Linked DNA regions of Homo sapiens: regions 1 and 3 are each linked to region 2. The links are contacts of gene promoters, found by promoter capture Hi-C in blood cells and fetal thymus (Javierre and others, 2016). All regions are on one chromosome and are shown on one strand. Each heading gives the region's core, a stretch centred on a gene start or on the middle of the fragment in contact. The rest is flanking DNA. Distances are from core to core; before and after follow the strand shown.

Region 1 (4,321 bases), core at 173-2,672, 440 kb before region 2:
GTGGTGGCTCACGCCTGTAATCCCAGCACTTTGGGAGGCTGAGACGGGTGGGTCACTTGAGGTCAGGAGTTCGATAGCAGTCTGGCCAACATGGTGAAATGCCGTCTCTACTAAAAATACAAAAATTAGCCGGGTGTGGTGGCATACGCCTGTAGTCCCAGTTACTCGGGAGGCTGAGGTGGGAGAATTTCTTCAACCCAGGAGGCAGAAGTTGCAGTGAGCCAAGATCGCGCCATTGCACTCCAGCCTGGGCAACACAGCGAGACTCTGTCTTAAAGAAAAAAAAAAAAAAAGGTACCATCACCACTTACTTGGGACTTGTGGTGTGTGAATTTCAAGTGTTCTTTCTCATATAGGGAAACCAGGTCCCTATTCATCAGTACCTGAGATGAAATACTCAGCATAGCCCAGCTGGGTATTTCACTTAAATGAAGATGAAGCCAACTTTAGCTGAAGCAACTTTGTTGTCCTTTATCAAGACTGAGTAAGGGTGGGGGAAAATAAAATATTTTTTGACCGAGGAAGCTTTTTATCTCCTGAACATTTTCAGAGACATCTACTTGGACTTGAGAAGGCTGCTAGATTTCTCCAGGCTATAAGTCCTGTCAATCTCCTATATATAAGATAGAGATGTTTTCTTTTACCCTAGTGTTTATCTCCACAAGTTCCTTCCCCACGATAGGCTTAGGGTAGGGGCCTCACTATTCACCTGCCTGGTAAGAACTAAAAGACCCAAGTCTTCAATTCTAGCCGTGATGTAAGAAACAGGAATAGTTTTACCTAAAATTTTGTCAGTCCTGCTAATTTAAAATTTAGGCTTTTTGCTAGTTAGTGTTAAAGGATATTGTAGGTTAAGAAGGTTTTTGTCAGCTTCCTGGAGATCTAACCTCAGTATAATATTGTATAACATCATTTCTGTGAGTAAATATTTGTTAACTCTCAATAAGTGGAGTTTTATAAACTCAATGATATTTAAGGTGCAGGGTATTTAGTCTAAAAATTTACGTATAGTTTGTGCACTAGGGCTACTAAATCTAATTCACACAAAAGCACCACATTGCAGAATCCTAAGGAACAATCAAAGGTGGAATCAGTAGAGGAAGGTGTTATTAGGTGGTGTGAATTTGAGGAAGAAAAAGGAGGAAGAAGGGATTAAAAAAAAGCTTTTTATTAAAGGAATAAAGAATCGAGCATCATCTCGATGAAGGATTGTCAAGATTCTTAAAGCTGAACATGTGCTAAAGTATAACAACTGGTGGATTGGTCTGAGCATCTAGGTAATTTGTGGGTGGATTAGTCTTTGCTGGTTAATCGTCCTGTTGAGGCTTTTACATGCTACAGAGTAGCTGTTAGGTGTGTCACTGCAGTAAAATCTGATTGCATTATTGTCTAGGTTATAAGTTTGTTGCTGAGATCATTGAATGCTGTGGTAGCAAACGTCTCATAAGAGCATGAAATGGTTTTTAGCAGCAGCCTCGAAGCTACTGGATGTATATAGAATAATGGAAAGACTGGTGGATATTCATACATTAGATATTTGAGGATATATTGTGAGCAAGGACTTGTTGTCACCTAGAGGCAAGATTTTTTAGCAGAAACATGACTAATAAATCACTACACAAACTGCTGTGGAAGCATATGTTAAGTCCCACAGGGAGCTCAAATGAAGGAGTCAGTAGGGGAAGCTTTTACAGAGGACTTACATTTAAGCTAGATTTTTACAGGCAGTTTTCTAGGCAAAGTAGGGAAAAGAAGGACATTTCCAGTCAGAGTTAAAAGCATATTAGGAATGAAACACCAATGGTTGTTTGGGGGAACTAAGAAGATACTGGTCTGCTAGAGTGAGTATACTGAGAGCAAGTGGTAAGGATTGGAAGAAGATAAGATTGGAACATCTGGTGTTTTGAGATTAGATTGGAAATATTTTATCCTCTGAACCAGGATTCCTTGTAGGCCGATTGTTTTGTTTTGCTTGGCCATGTATATTGTACTTCTTAAAAACAATCTGAAAATTTCAAATGATGGAGAATAATATGAAGTGAAAAGTAAAAGTTTTTTTCTGCTTTCCTAAACCTCTGTTATCACTCCTCAAAGGTTACCGGTTAATATTTTGTTGTCTTCTTTCATAAAATGTTGTATGCAGACACAGTATATTTGTCTTTTTTATCATACTTTTTAAAAAAAGTTTTAGGGGGTAATCTTTTTAATTTTTAAAATTATGTTGTTGTTAGAATCATACTTTAGATGTAGTCTGTGTTTTGCTTTTTTCACTTAACACTATAAATCAGGAGACTGTTTTAAAAAGATAACTGGCTTCAGTATAGAGTATAGCATGGTAAGCATTTATTCAATAAATTACTTATGGCAGGCATAGTGTCTGCTAAGCTTTTCCTCGACCCTGAGGATACAGTGATGGGTATCATTTAGGAAGCCATTTCCGTAGTGCACGTGAATGTTAATGGAGTCCCAAAAGGTAATGGGAATGGATGTAAGAACTGTATTGAGATAAAATTGATAAAAATAGCCCATCAATTGTCTGTGGGAAATGAGAAATCAGAATATATTTAGGATGATTTCAAGGTTTACAATTCAGGAATTCAGTAAAACACATTAGGGAAATAGGTGTGTTTATTTGTATATATCTGTGTATCTTTGTTTTGGGGAGGGGGAGGGTTCGTGATATGAAGGAGTTCATTTTGAACATAGTGTTTTTGAAGGATGTTCAAGTTATTGAGGTGAAAATTTCTGATAGGCAGAGGAAATAAAGTTCAGAGCTCAGGAGAGGTAAGAAGTAGAGTTGGAAATTTTTTCTTTTTTTGCTTTTCTTTGTGTGTGTGTGTGTGTGTGTGTGTGTGTGTGTGTGTGTATTTGTAATAGCTAAATCCTTGGGAATGAGTACAATTGCCCAGGGAGAAGAGGGCTCGAGGATAAATTAGCAAAGGAGACTGAGCAGTGGTCATAGAGGAACGACAAGAATCGAGAATATCACTTTCGGAGCCAAAGGATGAGAGGGTTTCAAAGGAGTGGTCAGCGGTGTCCCATAATACAAATGGGTCAGATGGGGAAGCACTGGAAAGAGGCTATTGGATTTGTTGACTACATGTTCAATGTAACCTTAGAGGTTTCAGGAGCTATCATAAGATGGAAAGATTCATTTGGAGGAGGCAGGGCAGTAAACAAGAAAAGGTGGGCAGTGGTTAATCAGAAGCAGGTGAGTTTATTTATAGCTTTTCTTTTAGCTTGGGCAGTTCTGAGTATGAACTTTATTTTTCCGGAGGCCTCTTAGCCAAAATGTGATAGACAACATAGGAGTAAGCTTCTGAGAAGTTAAGACACATGTCACAAATTCAGGGTAGCATAGCCCATATACCAGTCCACACACATTGATTTCTCTGGTTTCTCAGGCCGTACTGGTTAGAAACAACAGAAGAGGGGTGTGTGTGTGTGTGTGTGTGTGTGTGTGTGTGTGTGTGTGTGTGTGATGAGAGGCAAGCATGCTGACAGCCTCAAGAAGTAAATAGCACATAACCTTTCAGTGAGGGAAGAAGAGACCAGAACACACACACACAGGCAGAAGAAATGATGAAGATTTACTTAGCCTAGTAGAGTGTCCATTTACTGCTGAGGCAAAAAAAACCTCAGGAACTGCATATACTTAAAGTACCCTCTGCCCACCAGGTGCCTTTCTCCTAGTGAGTTCTTTCCTACTTTTTGCAGTGTTAATTCCTGCTCTCCCTTCAGTTATGGGCTCAATTGTCTTTCCCTCAGGAGAACCATTAGTGACTCAGGCCCCTTTGTTATATGAGGCTTCACAACTGTGTTTACTGTCTTTGCAGCAGTTATCTCCGTGTGCAATTCTGAGCTCATTTGCGTGGTTATTTAATTGTGTATCTCCACTTAACTCTGGGCCGTTTGTTTACAATGGGCCCAGAGTACATAAGTGGTATTCAAAATAAATGTGCCAAGGCATATTTAAATGAATCTGAATGCACCTCTTTTCAGCTGTCATCCTGTGCCTCCTCCATCTACAAAGCCATTAATATAAAAGAGACCAATATTTCCTATAAACTTCCCTATATCTGTACCAACATTATTAAAATATTCCTAGACAATTTGACAATCAAGGTGTTAACTCCACATGCTGATCAATAGAACAGAAAACCATCTGGGTGCTCATGCAACCCATTTTCTCCCTGCTTTCCCTCTCCATTCCTCCTCTCTCCCCTCTTTTCTTTCTCTTTTCATCCTTCTCTAAAGCTTATTTTAAAAACAAAATATGCATGTGATGCAAAAGTGAAATACCATGTCAATATTCACAAGA
Region 2 (3,875 bases), core at 1,287-3,786:
TTTAAAGAAACGTTGTTGCATAATAAATACTGCCTCTTCCTAAAATGCATCATGCCACAGCCAATTTTGGAAAACACAAATATGAGGTGAGTGTATTTTGAAAACTATGTGAATATAATAGATCTTTAATTCATATTTGTGGATTTTATGGGAAATACTTGTTTTCTAAGGCATCTGTCTTGCAAAAAGTCAGTTTCTGCTATGAAGGATGTTAAAGGGGATATGTAGGTTAAATTCTGTTTCTGAGCTTTGCTTCCAGAGTAAACACCCAACTTACTTTTGCCCTAAAGTATTTTATTGTTCTAGTAGAGAAGACTAACAACATATTCTAAACCACTAAGTAATTTATGTAAACTTCGCTTACAAACTACACTTGTGTGACACTTATATGAGCAAAAGCATTTTCATATTTCTTACTATATCATTCAATTCTTGCTTACCCCAATGGAAGTGACTTTATGCCCCTTTAGAGACAATGGAAATCAGGTACTTCGTGATTTCTCTTAAAAAAAAAAAAAATGAACTAGAAAGCTCCAAGTTTGGTGAATCTGGAACCTGGGTATTCCAGTTCCAGTTGTAGCCCTTCCTCCCTATCCATCACTCCTGTCTGCATGTAATTATGCAATACATTGAAAAGATTAAAAGATGGGTCTTGGACTCAGGCAGACCTGGGTCAAATCCAGATTCTGGCACTGCCCAGCCATTGCCCCTGGGCAAGCCATTTTCCTCTTTGAACCTCATTTGTGAATTAAGCTAAAAATAGTCCCCACCCCCATGGGACTGTGGGAAGGATTAAATAGAATAATGCATGAAAAGCAAATAGCAGAATGGTCCATAAATGTTAACCATTGTTATGTTATTATGTAATCTACAAAGTACGTTTAGTTACACTTCATGAAATACTTTCAGTTTTTCAAAGACACCACTAATACATGGGAAATCAAACCCTGAAAATTAATTTCACTTTAGCAGTAAAGTCACATGCCAGATGGAAAGGATAGTATTTCATGAACAAAGATCTTACTTTTGAGATTTGGTCTTACTTTTTTCTTTTTCTTAAGGGAGAATTATCTTGTGTTTTTTGTTTTGTTTTGTTTTGAGATGGAGTCTTGTTCTGTCACCCAGGCTGGAGCGCAGTGACGTGATCTCGGCTCACTGCAACCTTCACCTCCCGGGTTCAAGAGATTCTCCTGTCTCAGCCTCCCGAGTAGCTGGGACTACAGGTACGTGCCACCACACCTGGCTAATTTTTGTATTTTTAGTAGAGACAAGAGTTACACCATATTGGCCAGGATCTTTTGCTTTCTATAGCTTCAAAATGTTCTTAATGTTAAGACATTCTTAATACTCTGAACCATATGAATTTGCCATTTTGGTAAGTCACAGACGCCAGATGGTGGCAATTTCACATGGCACAACCCGAAAGATTAACAAACTATCCAGCAGATGAAAGGATTTTTTTTAGTTTCATTGGGTTTACTGAAGAAATTGTTTGAATTCTCATTGCATCTCCAGTTCAACAGATAATGAGTGAGTGATGCCACACTCTCAAGAGTTAAAAACAAAACAACAAAAAAATTAAAACAAAAGCACACAACTTTCTCTCTCTGTCCCAAAATACATACTTGCATACCCCCGCTCCAGATAAAATCCAAAGGGTAAAACTGTCTTCATGCCTGCAAATTCCTAAGGAGGGCACCTAAAGTACTTGACAGCGAGTGTGCTGAGGAAATCAGCAGCTGTTGAAGTCACCTCCTGTGCTCTTGCCAAATGTTTGAAAGGGAATACACTGGGTTACCGGGTGTATGTTGGGAGGGGAGCATTATCAGTGCTCGGGTGAGGCAAGTTCGGAGTACCCAGATGGAGACATCCGTGTCTGTGTCGCTCTGGATGCCTCCAAGCCAGCGTGTGTTTACTTTCTGTGTGTGTCACCATGTCTTTGTGCTTCTGGGTGCTTCTGTGTTTGTTTCTGGCCGCGTTTCTGTGTTGGACAGGGGTGACTTTGTGCCGGATGGCTTCTGTGTGAGAGCGCGCGCGAGTGTGCATGTCGGTGAGCTGGGAGGGTGTGTCTCAGTGTCTATGGCTGTGGTTCGGTATAAGTCTGAGCATGTCTGCCAGGGTGTATTTGTGCCTGTATGTGCGTGCCTCGGTGGGCACTCTCGTTTCCTTCCGAATGTGGGGCAGTGCCGGTGTGCTGCCCTCTGCCTTGAGACCTCAAGCCGCGCAGGCGCCCAGGGCAGGCAGGTAGCGGCCACAGAAGAGCCAAAAGCTCCCGGGTTGGCTGGTAAGGACACCACCTCCAGCTTTAGCCCTCTGGGGCCAGCCAGGGTAGCCGGGAAGCAGTGGTGGCCCGCCCTCCAGGGAGCAGTTGGGCCCCGCCCGGGCCAGCCCCAGGAGAAGGAGGGCGAGGGGAGGGGAGGGAAAGGGGAGGAGTGCCTCGCCCCTTCGCGGCTGCCGGCGTGCCATTGGCCGAAAGTTCCCGTACGTCACGGCGAGGGCAGTTCCCCTAAAGTCCTGTGCACATAACGGGCAGAACGCACTGCGAAGCGGCTTCTTCAGAGCACGGGCTGGAACTGGCAGGCACCGCGAGCCCCTAGCACCCGACAAGCTGAGTGTGCAGGACGAGTCCCCACCACACCCACACCACAGCCGCTGAATGAGGCTTCCAGGCGTCCGCTCGCGGCCCGCAGAGCCCCGCCGTGGGTCCGCCCGCTGAGGCGCCCCCAGCCAGTGCGCTCACCTGCCAGACTGCGCGCCATGGGGCAACCCGGGAACGGCAGCGCCTTCTTGCTGGCACCCAATGGAAGCCATGCGCCGGACCACGACGTCACGCAGGAAAGGGACGAGGTGTGGGTGGTGGGCATGGGCATCGTCATGTCTCTCATCGTCCTGGCCATCGTGTTTGGCAATGTGCTGGTCATCACAGCCATTGCCAAGTTCGAGCGTCTGCAGACGGTCACCAACTACTTCATCACTTCACTGGCCTGTGCTGATCTGGTCATGGGCCTGGCAGTGGTGCCCTTTGGGGCCGCCCATATTCTTATGAAAATGTGGACTTTTGGCAACTTCTGGTGCGAGTTTTGGACTTCCATTGATGTGCTGTGCGTCACGGCCAGCATTGAGACCCTGTGCGTGATCGCAGTGGATCGCTACTTTGCCATTACTTCACCTTTCAAGTACCAGAGCCTGCTGACCAAGAATAAGGCCCGGGTGATCATTCTGATGGTGTGGATTGTGTCAGGCCTTACCTCCTTCTTGCCCATTCAGATGCACTGGTACCGGGCCACCCACCAGGAAGCCATCAACTGCTATGCCAATGAGACCTGCTGTGACTTCTTCACGAACCAAGCCTATGCCATTGCCTCTTCCATCGTGTCCTTCTACGTTCCCCTGGTGATCATGGTCTTCGTCTACTCCAGGGTCTTTCAGGAGGCCAAAAGGCAGCTCCAGAAGATTGACAAATCTGAGGGCCGCTTCCATGTCCAGAACCTTAGCCAGGTGGAGCAGGATGGGCGGACGGGGCATGGACTCCGCAGATCTTCCAAGTTCTGCTTGAAGGAGCACAAAGCCCTCAAGACGTTAGGCATCATCATGGGCACTTTCACCCTCTGCTGGCTGCCCTTCTTCATCGTTAACATTGTGCATGTGATCCAGGATAACCTCATCCGTAAGGAAGTTTACATCCTCCTAAATTGGATAGGCTATGTCAATTCTGGTTTCAATCCCCTTATCTACTGCCGGAGCCCAGATTTCAGGATTGCCTTCCAGGAGCTTCTGTGCCTGCGCAGGTCTTCTTTGAAGGCCTATGGGAATGGCTACTCCAGCAACGGCAACACAGGGGAGCAGAGTGGATATCACGTGGAACAGGAGAAAGA
Region 3 (4,255 bases), core at 1,474-3,973, 440 kb after region 2:
AAAACGCTGCAGAGAGAAGATAACCCAAAATTCTTTGACAACAAACAGGGCTTGCTGAACCACAGCTCGCCTGACAGCCAAGACTCTCATATACCAGTGGTATCCTGCTGGGGCATCATATAGACAGGGGGTCCCTGGACCTCACTAAGGTTTTCAGTGGATACAGCCTCTCATATTCCCCGCTGCTGAGGGTTGTAAATCCTTTGCCTCCAGGTATGCTGCCATGAGCTCCAGCAGGGACAGTACAGCGTCATGGGTAAGGGCACATGGTTAGACGCATCCTCCCTCAGGGCAGTCTCAGCCTTGCCATTTGCTAGTTGAACGGTGTCCTCACCCTCCCATTTCATATTTGGAATCCCTAACCCCCTAGTACCTCTGAATGTGACTCTACTTAGACATAGGGCTTTTAAAGAGGTGACTAAGTTAAGATGAGGCTGTTAGGGTAGGGCCTGATCCAATCTGACTGGTGTCTTCATAAGAAGATTTGGACACGTGGTGACAGCCAGGGAGCCCATGCAGGGAGGGACGGCCACGTGAAGAGACAGCAAAGGGGTAGCCATCCACAAGCCATGGAGACAGGCCTCAGAGGAAACCAGCTCTGCTGGCAGAAATTCTGTTGTGGCAGCCCTAGCAAACGAATGAAATGACATATGCAAAATAGAGGTCGCGGCATTTAGTTGATAAAGTGGTGTGCTGCAGGTGCGCGCCTGGCTGCAGGGGAGGCGTGCGTTTCACTGCTCAACACCTCCCTTGGGCTTAGAGCCTGTGGTTTACCTAGAGTATGGGGGCCTCTCTGGGCCACTGCTGGAACTGCAGGGAGAGAGGCTGCCTTTCTCACCTGGAATCTCCAGGTGTAAGGAATTCAGGCTTTGCAGCTGTGTGGCCTTCTCTGCCACAGATTGGAACAGACGGCCTGAAGATGAAGACTAAACAGAGGAGGGCAGAGCCGGGAGATGGAGAGAAAAGAGCGACTGCTCAGTTTGCCTTCCTGGATCCAAGCTTGGCTTCAAACCAGCTTCGCCCCTTCAGCTACTCAGCTACCCTTTGAGCTTTTTCATTAAAGCTGGTTGGAGTTGTGATTCTATCACTTGCAACCAAAGAAGTTGTGACAGATACCCTGGCTCCCAGAGTGAATGAATATTGGCAGCGGAATCCCGAATGTGTTCCTTTGCTGTCTGTGTGAGGGAGAATGACCACAATTTAAACAGTGCAGGCATGTGCTCCGATCAAAGCGCGCAGTGTGACATGAATCACTAGGGAACACATAGGAAGGGTAAAAGCTTGCCTCAGTCTGTCACTGAAAAGTGTTTGTAGGGCCCAGACCTAGAGCCTTCTGGTTTTCCAAAACCTCCTTATGGATACAGAATTCCTTGTCATACAAAAGAAGCGTGACTGCCTCCCTAAGGCACAGGGTCTTGCCCACCTGGATCAGGACAAATTGTCCATCTGGCCCTAGCAATCTGTCATTGTAACAAAATAATGGGACTATGTAACGTTTTTAAATGTGCATACAAAACACCACTCCTTTGCAGACTCCGTGGGTAGCAGCATTTGGAGGCCTGGTAGTCCTCCCATCCGGGAGCACTGGGAGCTCCTTCAGGGAAGGAGGAACCTGGCAGAATCAGTTGCATTTCCAGGGGTTGGATTTATATAAAACTCCCTGCAGGGGGCAGCCTGGGTATGTGGCCACGGTTTCAGCATCCCTTAATATTTTTCCATAAACATCTGACGAATTCTTCAGAGGAAACCCACACTGATTACATAATAACCAACACTTCTGACCATGGCTCAGACACTGTGCTAAGCACCTTACAGATCTCATTTAACCCCCTGGTACTACTTTCATCCTTATTTTACAGATGAGGAAATTGGGCCCTTGATAAATAACTCATCCAGTGTTTCACAGCTGTATGTGGCAGAGCCTGCACTTGATCTTAGAGATGCCTCACCCAAAGCCCGTGCACTCGGCTATATCATACAAAATCTCCTCCCTGAATATACTGCCAGCTGGCATTTGAAGAAAACGTACCATGTGCTGGCATGGCATCAGCCACTCCACACTCTACATGCACAGTTACACTGAAGCATCACAACTGCTGTGTGGGGAAGATGTTTGTAGCCCCAATTTTTAGATGAGGAATCTGAGGTTCAGAGCGGTTGAAGATCGTGCCTGGACTGTGCAGGGGCGGGGCTGGGTAACACTCAGATCCACCTTGTCCTAAAGTCATGCTCTTCACCACTGTGTCCCACACACTGAACAGAGTGGCTCAGGTGACCTCATATCAGGGCATCACTGCTCCTGGTTCTGGCTCTAAGGCCTTCTGTGATTTCAGGTAAGATTTCTCCCCTTCTCTCAGCCTCAGTTTCCCCAACTGACAAATGAAGGGACCAGATGGGCTAATGTCTCAGGTTTTGGGGGGCTTTAAAGCTTTTCTAGCTCCAGGTTATAAAATCCACTTTGGACCTCTGCAACCTGGCACCAGCCTGCAGCCACAGATGAAGCTAGGGGCGTGCAGCCCAGATCTTCAGAAGAGAGTTAGTCCACGCTGCAGTGTTAGGAGCTGCACACCCTCCTCAGGCCTCAGCGTGGAGGCCCCCAGCTGGACAGACCCTCCAGATGTCTTCATGGGTCCCTAATTTCCCTCAAGTTTCCACATTGGGGCCTGGGGGTGGCTATAGTCCAGATTAAGTTCACAGGGGTGTTTTAGTTGGCTACTGCAATGTTTAAAACAATTGGAATTCATTACCAACACTTTTAAATCAAAAGAGATTTCTCACTGAAATCTAGATTTCTGGGTTCTGCTGAAAAAGCTGAAGATTGGCCACTCCATTTCCAAGCTGACTGGTGACTGGCCCCTCAGACGGAGCAAGAGGGCTCCGCTTTGCTGTGGCCCCTCCACTTGCATGGCCTGCTTCCTGCACACCCTTCCCTGCCCGGCCCTGTAGGTGCTTCAGGGCACGAGCCTCGCTTCAGGAGCCTAAGATCTCGCTTAAGGAGAAGAATCCAAAGGGATGGAGTAAGCTTCATGCAGCATTTCAGCATAAAACAAAAGCTCCTTTTCCTTCAGACACAACCACTGGGCTTGGTTTTAACAACTGTGGAAGCTGAGCCCTGTTGCCTCCATGCAAGTAGGAGCCCCGTGCCCTGGAGCAGAAACCTGAAGGCGCATGGGAAGAAGGAGTTTTCATCCATCCATGAAACTCTTTCTCTTTCTCCCAGAAACAGCCACTGAGATCTCTATCTGCTTTCCGGGGCCCAGGGTGGGCCAGCAGACGTGTGTCATTTCCCTGGATAGGGGCTATAATGGCAACATTGTGCTAAGTGGAACAAGAGAGGTTTTCATTGCAGCCAGCATCAGGCAGACACCCGATCAGAGGGCTCTGGGGATCACCCCACACAAAGGAGCATGGGAGAGGGGCCCTGAGCCAAGGAGAAGCCACACATCCACAGCAGCACACAGGGGCTGGGCAGCACAGCAGCATGTCTCCAGAAGGCCTGGTCACAAGTTCATTTCCCCCTGCAAATAAATAAGCAAATACGACAATCCCAGAGGACAAATGGGACCCCCAGGACACATGCATTAATAGAAGCCAAAACTGGCAGGCCTTACACACCCTTGAGTATGTTTTCACTGACTCATTCCACAAATACTATTACCATTTACTAGGTGTTTGGGCACTGTGCTAGATTCTAAGGATCTAGCAATGAGTAAGACAGCGCCCGCTCTCACAGCATTTGCAGTCTGGTGGGGGACAGGGAAGCATAGGTAAAGAAGCACATAAGAAATTATGTACTATTGACCCAGTGGAAGAACTGAGATTCACACGGCAATGAAGTTGACTTAGGAACCCAGATCTGAGCACCCATCTGTTGTTTTTCTTACTCTTCCTGAAGTCTCCTGAGATCACTGCAGGCTCAGTGAAGAAGGCACCCCAAACACCATAATAAGAAATCTGGACTCTCCGCTGAGGGCCCGGGGAGCCATCACATATTTTTAAGGGGGTAGTTGCACGGTCTGATTGGGATCATGGAATGGTCGCTCTGTTGGCCATGGTGGAAACAGTCCCTAGAGGTAAGGTGACAGGTTAGGAGGCTAGAGTATATTTCTCTCCCTGGAACAAATAGTCCTGAGCCTCCAAATTTTTCTTTCCCAGGGTTTCCCAGTTCCACCTGATAAGCGAAGAATGAGACTAGGGAGTATCATTTGTTTTCACAAGACAGGGAGCAGGAGGGAGTTGAAAGCTTTCTTCCTGG

What was found. Contacts are between HindIII fragments. The CHiCAGO score rates a contact against its expected background, and 5 or more counts as called.
Region 1: a contact is called between a fragment that was not itself captured here and the fragment with the promoter of ADRB2 in region 2, in 1 of 17 cell types (naive B cells). The highest score is 5.0, in naive B cells.
Region 3: a contact is called between a fragment that was not itself captured here and the fragment with the promoter of ADRB2 in region 2, in 3 of 17 cell types (non-activated CD4 T cells, naive CD4 T cells and total CD8 T cells). The highest score is 8.7, in non-activated CD4 T cells.

The regions. Positions count from the first base shown.
Region 1 is chr5:148,389,755-148,394,075 of GRCh38, forward strand. The region is part of intron 1 of FBXO38 (F-box protein 38); the gene reads left to right. Among named protein-coding and RNA genes, the nearest start is that of FBXO38, 8.0 kb to the left of the region's middle. The HindIII fragment of the contact is 522 bases long and covers 1,162-1,683 here.
Region 2 is chr5:148,824,075-148,827,949 of GRCh38, forward strand. ADRB2 (adrenoceptor beta 2) reads left to right here and starts at 2,537. Exons shown (of 1, transcript NM_000024.6): 1 at 2,537-3,875. The coding sequence starts at 2,758. RefSeq lists enhancers at 1,836-1,995, 2,852-3,437 and silencers at 2,266-2,575, 2,666-2,805. The HindIII fragment of the contact is 9,818 bases long and covers 1-3,875 here.
Region 3 is chr5:149,264,103-149,268,357 of GRCh38, forward strand. No RefSeq gene overlaps it. Among named protein-coding and RNA genes, the nearest start is that of AFAP1L1, 5.6 kb to the right of the region's middle. The HindIII fragment of the contact is 594 bases long and covers 2,427-3,020 here.